Regions from separate parts of the Homo sapiens genome. Here regions 1, 2 and 4 are each linked to region 3. Evidence: promoter capture Hi-C in 16 types of primary human blood cells and fetal thymus (Javierre and others, 2016). All regions are on one chromosome and are shown on one strand. Each heading gives the region's core, a stretch centred on a gene start or on the middle of the fragment in contact. The rest is flanking DNA. Distances are from core to core; before and after follow the strand shown.

Evidence for each region. The method cuts DNA at HindIII sites, captures the fragments that hold promoters and counts their contacts. A CHiCAGO score of 5 or more calls a contact.
Region 1: a fragment that was not itself captured here is called in contact with the fragment with the promoter of C5orf67 in region 3 in 2 of 17 cell types (total B cells and naive B cells); the score reaches 8.4 in total B cells.
Region 2: a fragment that was not itself captured here is called in contact with the fragment with the promoter of C5orf67 in region 3 in 3 of 17 cell types (total B cells, naive B cells and neutrophils); the score reaches 10.6 in total B cells.
Region 4: a fragment that was not itself captured here is called in contact with the fragment with the promoter of C5orf67 in region 3 in 3 of 17 cell types (total B cells, naive B cells and neutrophils); the score reaches 6.7 in total B cells.

Annotation. Positions count from the first base shown.
Region 1 is chr5:56,746,524-56,749,223 of GRCh38, forward strand. No RefSeq gene overlaps it. Among named protein-coding and RNA genes, the nearest start is that of MAP3K1, 68 kb to the right of the region's middle. The HindIII fragment of the contact is 401 bases long and covers 1,068-1,468 here.
Region 2 is chr5:56,448,468-56,451,167 of GRCh38, forward strand. No RefSeq gene overlaps it. Among named protein-coding and RNA genes, the nearest start is that of LINC01948, 32 kb to the right of the region's middle. The HindIII fragment of the contact is 2,225 bases long and covers 233-2,457 here.
Region 3 is chr5:56,604,809-56,607,508 of GRCh38, forward strand. It overlaps C5orf67 (chromosome 5 putative open reading frame 67), which reads right to left and starts at 1,448. Exons shown (of 6, transcript NR_161255.1): 1 at 1,214-1,448. The HindIII fragment of the contact is 384 bases long and covers 1,107-1,490 here.
Region 4 is chr5:56,465,356-56,468,055 of GRCh38, forward strand. LINC01948 (long intergenic non-protein coding RNA 1948) reads right to left here. Exons shown (of 5, transcript NR_104664.1): 2 at 2,357-2,457. Among named protein-coding and RNA genes, the nearest start is that of LINC01948, 15 kb to the right of the region's middle. The HindIII fragment of the contact is 6,555 bases long and covers 1-2,700 here.

The sequences.
Region 1 (2,700 bases), core at 18-2,517, 140 kb after region 3:
GGCAGATATAATTGGAAGGACCCAGGAAGTTTCCATGACAGACCTGACTTAGTTGATTCGGAGCCAGTGCCCAATCCCTACACCTGGCAGGCATTAGAAATGCCAGGAGCCACTGGGAGGAAAGAAGGGCCTGATATCTGGCATTTTAGGTGGCCTGAGGCAAGAGGGAGCTTGAGCAGAGGTTGTTGGCATCTGTGAGTTGGGTATTTCCAATGAGGACATTGTTATGCCAGAGGCCACTGAAGGCCCCTCCCTGTCTCTGTGGCTTAGTTGGCAGGACTTCTTTGTCAGCATCTTTCTCTTTCCCCCAGATCCCTTTCAGCACATACCTCCATGCCCCAGTCCCATACTGACCATGAGGTTACAAGAGAGGCACTAATTAGCAGCTCGTCCCTTTCCATCCCAAAATTGGACTCCCAGATCTCCAATAAACATCTCATAATTTGGCTCCAAGAATTCATGTTCAGAGTACAACCTTACAATTTTTATTTTTGGTGTGAATCACTTATTTTATATTTTTAACAACTCCTATTATTGAGAAGTGGCATCTCTCTTTCCATTGATTCTGATGAGATCTTTGTTGCTATTTTGGTAACAAGAAGCAACAGCTGGAGTAGGGGTCATCCAAAGTCTTTTGTGTTGTGTATAGAAAATACTTAAGGGACTCTGTGAAAAAGTTCTTCTGCATACCCTACATGATTTTATCTGTAATGTAATATTATTAACATTTGTAAGTAATTCCACTTTATAGATGAAGAAATTGAGGCACCCAAGGTTTAGGTGACGGCTTAAATCAGTGGACGAATGTAAAAGTTGAATACTCTCTGCCCAATGTGTTTTTTCCTAGGCCAGCGATTCTGGGGAATTTGAGGACCCAGGCTCATATCCTACCTTCCTATCTACCACCACCTCCCACTACAGCCCCCAAAAATAAAAATTAGTCTAATTTTTTCAGTCTTATTGCTGATAACATCTGGGATGTTAGTTAAGGAGTGATCGTGACAGTGAATGATGAATAAATTATCAGTCAGCAACTAGAAAGAAAATAAGTGAAAGTTTACCAGGAAAGCTTTTCCATGGTGCCTTTTAGTTACAGGAATATATTCTAAATATGCACTGTGTTCTTCTTATAAATATTGAGTATTAGTTGACTCATCCTATCCTACACAGCGGTCTGTAGATACCACCTTTAATAAATGCTTGGAAGAAGAGCTTTTAATTTCTTTCAATTTGATTGTTGAATCTATATGAGTATTATAGAAAGTGTTCTCTAATTTAATACTTATAGAAAAAAATTGCTATTTTGAATTGGTCTGTGACCTCAGTTGCCTTTTCCCTGTCTTTGTTCTGTAAGAAGAGTTTCTCTTGGCTCCTGATTTACAGTACTAAATATATTCTGACGGAACCATAGCCCAAGCCCCAATGTTCTTAAGTCCTAATTCAATTAAAGGTATAAATGATATTAAGAAGCTTCTTGTAGTGCAGAGAACATTTCTATTGGGTAAAATGTTTTATTGGAACACTGATATTTCTGCCATTGCTTACTGCCATCATTGTTACTGAACCCTCCATCTCTTGCCCAGGTGTTTACCTCATTATGTATATTTGAATTATTGACAACTGTTGAGCACCTCATCACAGCATTGTGATAATGAGGTCAAGATTTCAGATGTATGGCTGACATCTCATTGGTTTCACTCCACTAATCCCCAGCCCCAGCTTACCATCTTGCATTAAGCTTTCCACAGACTCACAAAGAGTCCTCAGCAAGCAGAGTTGACTTGATAAGAATCCAACACTGCTCTGCCAACTCCCAAAACACTATTGATAGAAAAATCAAAAGTATGATCTAAAGTGCATGTAATTCTTATTATGTCTTGAATTTGTACAGGGTGTTTTCACTAAAGAAATCAAAGTACTACTAAAGCTATCTTAAATTATCTTAACCAACATTTATTCAGTGCCTATAATGATCATGACATTGTGCTCACCACTGTGGGAGATATAAAAATGAATATGGCCCTGTCTCCACCTCATGGAATCCTAAAATAGAGGTGGGAAGATAATAATAATTATAATGTGTATGACATTGTTGAAGCTTATTATGTTGAAGATATTGTTACATTGTCTTATTTGCTCTCAAACAATTTGGATAGGTATTATTATCCCCATTTTAGTAACAAACAAGCTCAAGAAGAGTAAATAACTTACCAAAAGAGATTCATTTACCAACAGATATTTATGCTATGACTCAAATTCATGCCTTTGATTCTAAACATTTTAATACTTAACTGAATTTCTATAAAGTATAAAGACTTAAAATGGTAAAACAAAAAAGATAAAAATTAATATATTCAAAAGTTCTTACAGTTTCCCAGTCCTTTAATACTCCCATAGGGTGTCTGGCTGCTCCCTCTGAAGTGTGCACCCCTTTCCAGTCATTTTGAGAATCCATAAAGGGAGGCAGTTTCATATGAGCTTGCAAATCATTCTATGGGCCCTAGACCTCAGGAGGCACCTCGCTGAGACTTGATGGAACATAGAGTTAGAACCAGACAGTGAAAGAGCGGGAGTCCCACCCATTCTGACTGATAAGGTCCCTTAGTAGAAGCTCCAGGACTCTTAGCAAATTTCAGCAACCATTTTTTTTTCATTGTCTGTCTTTGATATTTAGAATAATAAGCACCTGGGACTGTGGGA
Region 2 (2,700 bases), core at 95-2,594, 160 kb before region 3:
ATACTTATCACCATGTGACATATTATAGCCTTTATTTCTCAGATGTTATATATTGTCTTTCTCTCCTGTTACCACTAAAAATAAACACCAAGGAGGCAGGGATTTTGTGTGCTTTTTTCACTGCTGTGTCTCTAGCAACTAGAACAGTGCCTGGCACATAACAGACACTCAATAAATACTAGTTGAATAAATAAATGAATGGCTCTTTCTACTTTACCTCCCTTCCAGTCTAAGCTTTGTCTTCATCTTTGTTGCCTCATGGCTACATGATGGCTGCTGCTTTCCAGACATCATGTCCATGTCCAAGGCAAAAAGAAATTGGGGAAGAGTAGTGCCAGACACATGGGCCCTCTTTATCACATAAGCAAAACTTTCTCAGGAGTCCCAAGCTGACTTTAGTTTATATCTATTTGGCTTGGGTTATGGCACAAGCTACCAGCAGCAGTGAGAGAAACTAGGAAAGCAAGTAGGTAACTGGGCACATTGCTGCCCTGAGCAAGATCGATAAGAAGAGAAGGGCTGGACATGGTATCACTAACTGGGTCTACTGTGAAACTGCTAAAGGAAGAACCCAAACTTTGGGAACAAAATGGGAAATGCACCACCCTCTCCTAGAATCATCTCTGCCTCACATCCCTTCATTTCCCAGATGACCTGCCCTTGGCCACTGAAGGAACATGAAAGGCACAGGCAGCCTGTGGCCTGAGGCTCAGAGAGTGCAACAGAGACCTTAGTGTCTGCTCCCTTGAAGCTCACCGGAAGGCCAGCATATAATAGCGTTCAAATAATTGCATCTCTCAGGCTTGCAAGCACGCTCAGCATTGTTCAGGCAAACTGTGCCTTCCTGTGCCTCTGAACTTGGTCACCGCAGATCAGCCCTGCCCAGTCTTTGGGTGCTCCAGACTGCACACTGATGAAGAAACTTTGGCAACTGTTAAATTGCCTGCAGATGGGTCCAGTCACGCAGAAACATTCATGCAGTGTCCTCCAGACCCTTTGTGTGCTTCCCCGGATACAAGAGAGTGGGACCTGGACCCCCCCTCTGCCCAGCAGGCTTATGCTGCTCTACATCCTCTGGGGAAGTGACTGCAGCTCATTTGAACCTAGAAGCAACCATGTGATTCTCTCCCAGGCCGTGGTTCTCCTGACACATGTAGCAGAAGCCATTCCAGGAAGAAAAGGTGCCTGGACCCTGGATATTAGGGCCTGAAGCAAGGCATCACCAGGAAATTCTCTTCAGTTATTTTGGCTCTGACCTCGATTCCATCATGATGCTTGTCACCACATTCTTCACTAGGTGAGGGGCACCATGAGGATAGTGACTGTGTATTTCATCTGTTTGTACCTCTAGCACGTAGCACACTGCCTAGTACCATAGCAGGTGCCAAATAAATAGGCACTGAAAGAATGAATGAAAGATTCCCTGAAAATAGAATGTGACAGGCATGTGGAAGCGAGAGGGGAGAGGGAGCCTGAGGCACCCTGTGGGTGGTACAATACTTCTTCATAGCCTTTGCGTTACAGTCTAAAGATTTTACCAGCTTCAAATATTAAACACCTAGAGAGATTTTTTTTTCCACTTTTGCTGTCTTAAGCTCATTAACTTTCTTCAAGGTTTTGCCCATTGTTGCCACTGGAAAGAAAGAGGGAAAAAATGTTAGCACGTCCATGGAATTTGCAAAGTTACCAAATAGTTTAATATCCAGGTAAATCAATGGCAGCTCAAAAATTCCATGATTGTGTAATCCTGCCTCAGCTTTTTAATATGAGAATATTTACCACTGAAGGAGTACCTTGATCCCCTCTGACCAGCTGTGAGCTTATTAGTCTAATTCCCAAGTAACTCTAATCAAACATGATCATTTAAAAAATCTTCAGTAGCTAATCTTCCTCTCATTCAATTAAAAATATCTGTCATCTTCTCGATGTGACATCCAAAGGCTGGGAGTCCCAAACCTTGCTAAAAGAGAAAAGACATTTTCCCTATATCATGTGCTGGGGTATTTCCAGGGCTTATAATGGTGAGAAAGAAATGCTCTCCTGTATCCTATGCCAGCCAGTAGCATTCTGTCCAAACAATTCCCACACACTCCCACCCAGATGAATTGTATTTAAAGAGAATAGATTTTCACCTGAACACTCTATCTGATTTAGAACTCTGCTTTTCTCCATGAATGCAGAGAGAAAGCTATAATTCTTCACAATCATGAGCATCTTTAGCCTTGGGAAGTATGTCAACGTGCTGGAAGAAGGTAGTTGCTTCTCAAAGGCTGCCATGTTAGAAATCCATATGGCCAATGTTTCTGCCATTGTTCCTTTCCTGCTGTGAGGAAAAGTGCCTATGTAGTCTCTGGCTACACGTGATTGTCCTGTGTGATACGATGCCATGATCTGGCCGTCTCTTACAGTACAGCTTTTCATTCCGAGATAGCCTGTCGTGCTGGCTGTTTTGGATGAAGCTTGGCATGAGCACAGAAAGTCCATACAGCCACCCACAACTTGATCTACTAGTTGTGAACGGAAACTTTTGAACACGTTCCACCAGCTGCACAATGGTACCATTTATTACTTTATTCTCAGGGGAAAACGTTTGCTGTGTGAATAATACCAGGGACTTATGTAAGCTTCTTCATTTTCAGGGAGCTTTATGGGTGTCAGCAAATTCACACAACACCCTGGTAAGGTAGCAAGGTATTGTTA
Region 3 (2,700 bases), core at 198-2,697:
AAAGTTTTGCCATATAGAACACAGCCACACAAACAGGCCCCTCCTAGTCAATCACTGAATCCAGCCTCTCCAGACTCAACAATCTGACTTAGGATCTCAGAATTCCAGGAAATACTAGGGATGGCTTGGCTGCCTCCTTGGTTATAGGTGAGGAAACAGGCGAATGGTGAAATGACTTAACCAAAGTTCCCAGAGCTGGCACATTTATAGCTGAGATCTCCCAATACTGTTGTCTTACTCCTGCACGCAAAAATTAGTGGATGTTTTGTTCTTTTTTTGTCTTTCAAAGGACTTGGTTTCATTGTTAAAAGAAACCTCACTGCAAGTTACCAAGCTGTCAAACCCTGAGGCGGGATGAGCCACTATTTTTCAAATCCGTGCACCAGTAGTGCTTCTGTGACATCACCCAACACAGAATATCTTAAAATCGATTTCAGGAATGGATCTCGTAACCAAAAAACAGCTTGTTCAGAAAGGGGCACCTATGCACGTAGCAGATGCCTTCTATCTGGTCTCCATCTTCTATCAGGTCTCCCTTTCTCTCTCTTTATTACTGCCCCCCACCTCTGGGAAACTGCCACACCCAGCCACTAAGACCAAGACTTTGCGCACTAAGACTGTGTCGACAGATAAGCAGAAAAGTACAGCACTAGTTTCATCTAGTGTTCTGCCCTGTGTTTCAGTTGAGAGAAATTTCACACATATACACAGACACAGACACACACACACATACTCTCTCTCTCTCTCTTCCTAAGAAATGAATATAGAGCAGCTAAAACCAGATAAGTTCTAGATCCCTGAGGCTTGAGACCCAAGCCTGAGACTGTTCTTAATTGGCCTCATTGACAGCAGATGCCCAGCTCCTCTGCCCCACTCTCTAGGATCCTGCACAGATGTGGCCAAATTCTTCCCCACCAAACCAGCTTTAGACTCTCCTGGGCCTGGCGATCCATGCCTTCTTCTTCACCCCTCTCCTGAAGATTCCTGTGACTATGGGTCTGGAAGCCCTTTCTGCCAAGACACCACTTTCCTCTTCTGGTCTCATTTGGTTTGTCTGACCCTTGGCTGGTTCTAATCCTTGGTGGATTCCTTCACATACTGCTCTAAGCTTGCCCTTTGACTGCATTACCTCGAGCCTTTCTACAAGGCACCAGCTCTATTTCCTGGCCAGAAGTAGAAATTCCCTCCCCCGCTGCGCAGAAGTCCCACTCACAGAATTCGGCTTCATTGCTTCTCTGCCTCTCCAGCTCCATTCCTCGAAGAGCAGAGATGACAAGATGTAGGTTCTGTGTATGCATCCATGTTCTCACTGATGGCTCAGCCAGCATCTCTAAAGTTTTTTTTAATGATTAAGGGCCTTTGGGTTCCCCTGTGGCACTTCCTTGGAGGTAAGGGCTCAGGTGAAGTTGTTCATTTGGCTGTTGATCCCAGGGGAGCACAGGGAATATGAAACAGGGAAGAGAGGAAAGCTAATAAAGAATGTGTTAAGAAGCTTTGGGCAATCAGGGCTTCCTCTAGCAGGAAACCCTTAGGAGACTGCAGAACATTCCTTGGAATGAGGGCAAGGACTTTGGATTATTTATCCAGCCAGGACTTTCCCTCTTTGGCCAAGGGTCATTCCTTGGGCAATAATTCCCTGGCACTTGCAGACTAACCTGTGTGCTTCCAAGCTCATTTCTTTTTTCTTTTTTCCTTTTGTCTTTTTTTTTTTTTGAGATGGAGTCTTGCACTGTTGCCCACGTTGGAGTGCAATGGTGCGATCTCGGCTCACTGCAACCTCTGCCTCCTGGGTTCAAGTGATTCTTCTGCCTCAGCCTCCTGAGTAGCTGGGATAACAGGTGCCCGCCACCACACCCAGCTAATTTGTTGTGTTTTTAGTAGAGATGGGGTTTCACTATATTGGCCAGGCTGGTCTTGAACTCCTGACCTTGTGATCCGCCTGCCTCGGCCTCCCAAAGTGCTGGGATTACAGGTGTGAGCCACCATACCCAGCCGCTTCCAAGCTCATTTCTATGGCTGAAGAATGCCCTCAGGCAGAGAGAAGCAGGAGGTTGTCTGTCTACACAGCATGTGACTACAGCCAAACTCTGGGGTGGCCAAGGGGACATGGGTTGGACACCAACAGCGTCTGCTACAAAAGTGGTTGTTGCCACCCCTCAGAATCCCCCTCTCTGTGTGATCTTCCAGATTCAATGTAATACGTACTGAATGCTGCCAAATATAATGTACCAGACTAGACTCAGGTAATCACAAAGATGTGTAAGACAGAGTTCTTCTCCACACAGAACTTTCAATTTGATGTAAGAGACAAACAGAAATAAAAGTCTTTATAGAAAAGTAAGTCTTTATAGAATAAAGAAGAATATGAGAAGGGCTGTATTAGAGCCATGAATCACTGGCTGTGAGAGCTGCGGGAAGATGAGATTAATTTTGACTAGAGGGAGAAGGCTATCAGGGCAGTTTTCCAAAGCTAAAATATTTTAAACATATGCTAAATCGACAGACATCCAATTCCCACCAAGAGCAAAAGAATAAACATTCTTTCGCAGGGCCCTAAAGCCAGAAAGCAGTGAAAGAATTAGAACCATTTTATCTCAATTCACAAAAGGAAATAAGTGACATCTTTCAGTATCACCCCATCTTCTAGATGCAACGTTTAAAACCAAGTCACAAGAGCAAGATGTTCTTCCTGCTCCACGT
Region 4 (2,700 bases), core at 77-2,576, 140 kb before region 3:
TTCCCATATTGGCAAAGGAAGAACTATCTGCTTCTCGGTACTGAATCTTGCACAACTATAACAAGGAAATGATAGCACATTTTAAAGACGACGACATGGATTTTATTTTGTCAAGTTGTTTTTTTCCATTGTGTAAACTAGCAGGGTGTGGCCACAGCAAGCACTATTGTTTAATCATTCAGTTGAAAACTCAGCCCACACATCTCTCCTCACCCAGTGGACCTGCTCTTTTAGGATAATTCCATCTAGCTCACAAAGCCGTACTGAAGATATTTCCTGTCTTCATGCAAAACACTTCCATCATCTCCCTGCCCAGGGGAGGAAATGGAAAGAGAACGCTTATCCATCACAACAGGATATAGAGCTGTGGACCTGATTCTACCCCACGTCTCTGATTTAATGTGCAGTCCGAACCCAGGCACAAATCTAAGCAATACACCATATGTGCAGGCCCCAGGGGAAATCAGAACAAGCCTGAAGGAAGTTAGGCGAGAGAGCAAGCCCAGAGACAATGTATATTCTTTGCTACACATTCCATTTCCTTTGGGCCTGGATTCCATGGGTTTCTCTGTATGTATCAGTGTGCATGTATGCTTGGAATGTATCAGTACATGTATGTATCAGTGTGCATGTATGCTTGGAAGATTGGTTTATGAAGGGCACAGAAGTCTGCATCTGATTCATCCTGGTGCATACGTGATTGCAAAAGTGAGAAGAGGAATATCAGGAGGAGGAGGTGCATGAAAAGGGGAGAGTGAGGTTCTGGCAGGATCATTCAGAACGCACACTAAGGCCAATATGTTCAGAAAGGAGTGTGTAGTAAGGAGAAGAGTGTCTTAGTTTGGGTTTCCCAGAAGTTGGTCCTGAATACAGGAAGTTAATTTGGGGAGTAATCCCAGTAAGACCAGGAGAGTGCAGAAATGAACCAAGGACGACAGGGAAGCAGACAGGATATGACAGGGACAGGTTATGAATGCGGACACTTGGGGCTCAGTCACCCTGGAGACCTCTGTGTGGCGATTCAGAACATGCTGCCAAGTTGTCTCACCCAAGGGATGAGAAAGCCGAGGTATTTACACACCAAATCCCATCCTGGTTGAGGGCTGCTTGCTGTCGATTGCCTTTTCAGCCCTTATGGCCAAGCCTGCATATGCAGAGCACACTCTCAGGAGGCCAGGGGGAGCCTAGAGGCAGACTCACAAATTCTTACAGTACAAGGCCATCTGGAGTGCACAAAATGGGAAGTAGCCACAGGTACTGGTAGGGCACCAACAGGGCCTGCTATTAGGTTCTGAATGTGGTCTGGGCACTGCTGTAAGCACTTTGCATGTGTTAACGTGTGAGATGCTCACAACAAGCCTACAAGATAGGTCTTGTTATCACCATTTTATAGATGTGGCACAGAGAGGTTAAGTCACTTGCCCAGGCTCACAGGCTCTATGGAGCCTTAGCATATGTGTTACAGCACATTGGCAATGCCCTCCGCAACGCATGCTTTTATCTTCTCTCTTTCCTTGTTTTCCCGCAAACTCTCCTAGGTTTTTAAGGCTTATGATAACTGAAGAGCATTTGTTGGTGCTAGGTACTTTACATGAGCAGGATCCCCAACAACATAGGGTACCAGCCACCCCTGGACAGTACACCTGAGCTTATATAGAAGGAAGTACAGTTCTCTTATTTAAGTCACTGTGCTTGGGAATCTCGTCATCACCATGAACACACAGGGTAATGTTGGAGTTCTAAGCACGGCTCTGGGACACCAAACACAGAAGGAGATATGTGGACCCAGCCCTGCTGCAGCAGTGAGACCTTATACAGGAGGGGCTGAGTCAGTGTCTGAAGACATGCATCCCACCCCGTCCTGAGTGCTTCTTCTCTTGCTTTGATTAAAGGAGGACTCAGCCTCTTGTAGATTTCCGTTCCTTGTGGAGGGAGCTGATACAAGAGACAACATGATTGAGTCTTCTTTGGCTCCCCCACGAGTCACTGCTTGAGCCTGCCTCACCAAACCAGTCCTGAGGTCTCAGTGCACAGAGCTGTCAGCAAACCTCCCGCTCCCTGTTTGTGTTGGCTTTTGTCACTGTGCCATGGAGGTGTTGGCTAAAGCTGTTTACTGGCTTAATTTAAAAACACCTCGAGGTGTTCTTAAAATTCTGCTTTGAGCAGCAATATGGACAGAATGGCAATGAAGTCAGAAAGCAATGAAGATAAATAGAATATAACCAAACAAAATTATCATAAAATCACATGGAGTAGCTTAAGGGAACTTTTGAAAAAGTAGATTATTTAAATATAATATTACACACATATATCTACACATACATAGACACACATATATGTATATGTATGCACATACCTGTATAATTTCAGGAGATCTTATTGTCTTCATGGAGCTCATTTATTCATACCATAGAGGTCAGGCCATGTTCTAGGCTAAGTGCAACTCTGAAGCACGTTCTTCCAGACCAAAAGAACAGAACAAAGCACAGAAGACTTAAAATATTAGTTTTATATGCATGAAAAATAATGGCATCAAAAATCAGACTCCTATGGCAAAAGCCACCAACATGAGCTTTCTTGATTATTTTTATGGGGCCAGGAACCATTTGATAGCGGAATGTGGGTAAAACCAGGCGATATGAAGTGAGGAGCTAAAAATCGGCTTACGTAGCATTGTCAGTTGCCTAAACTGAATGTCAA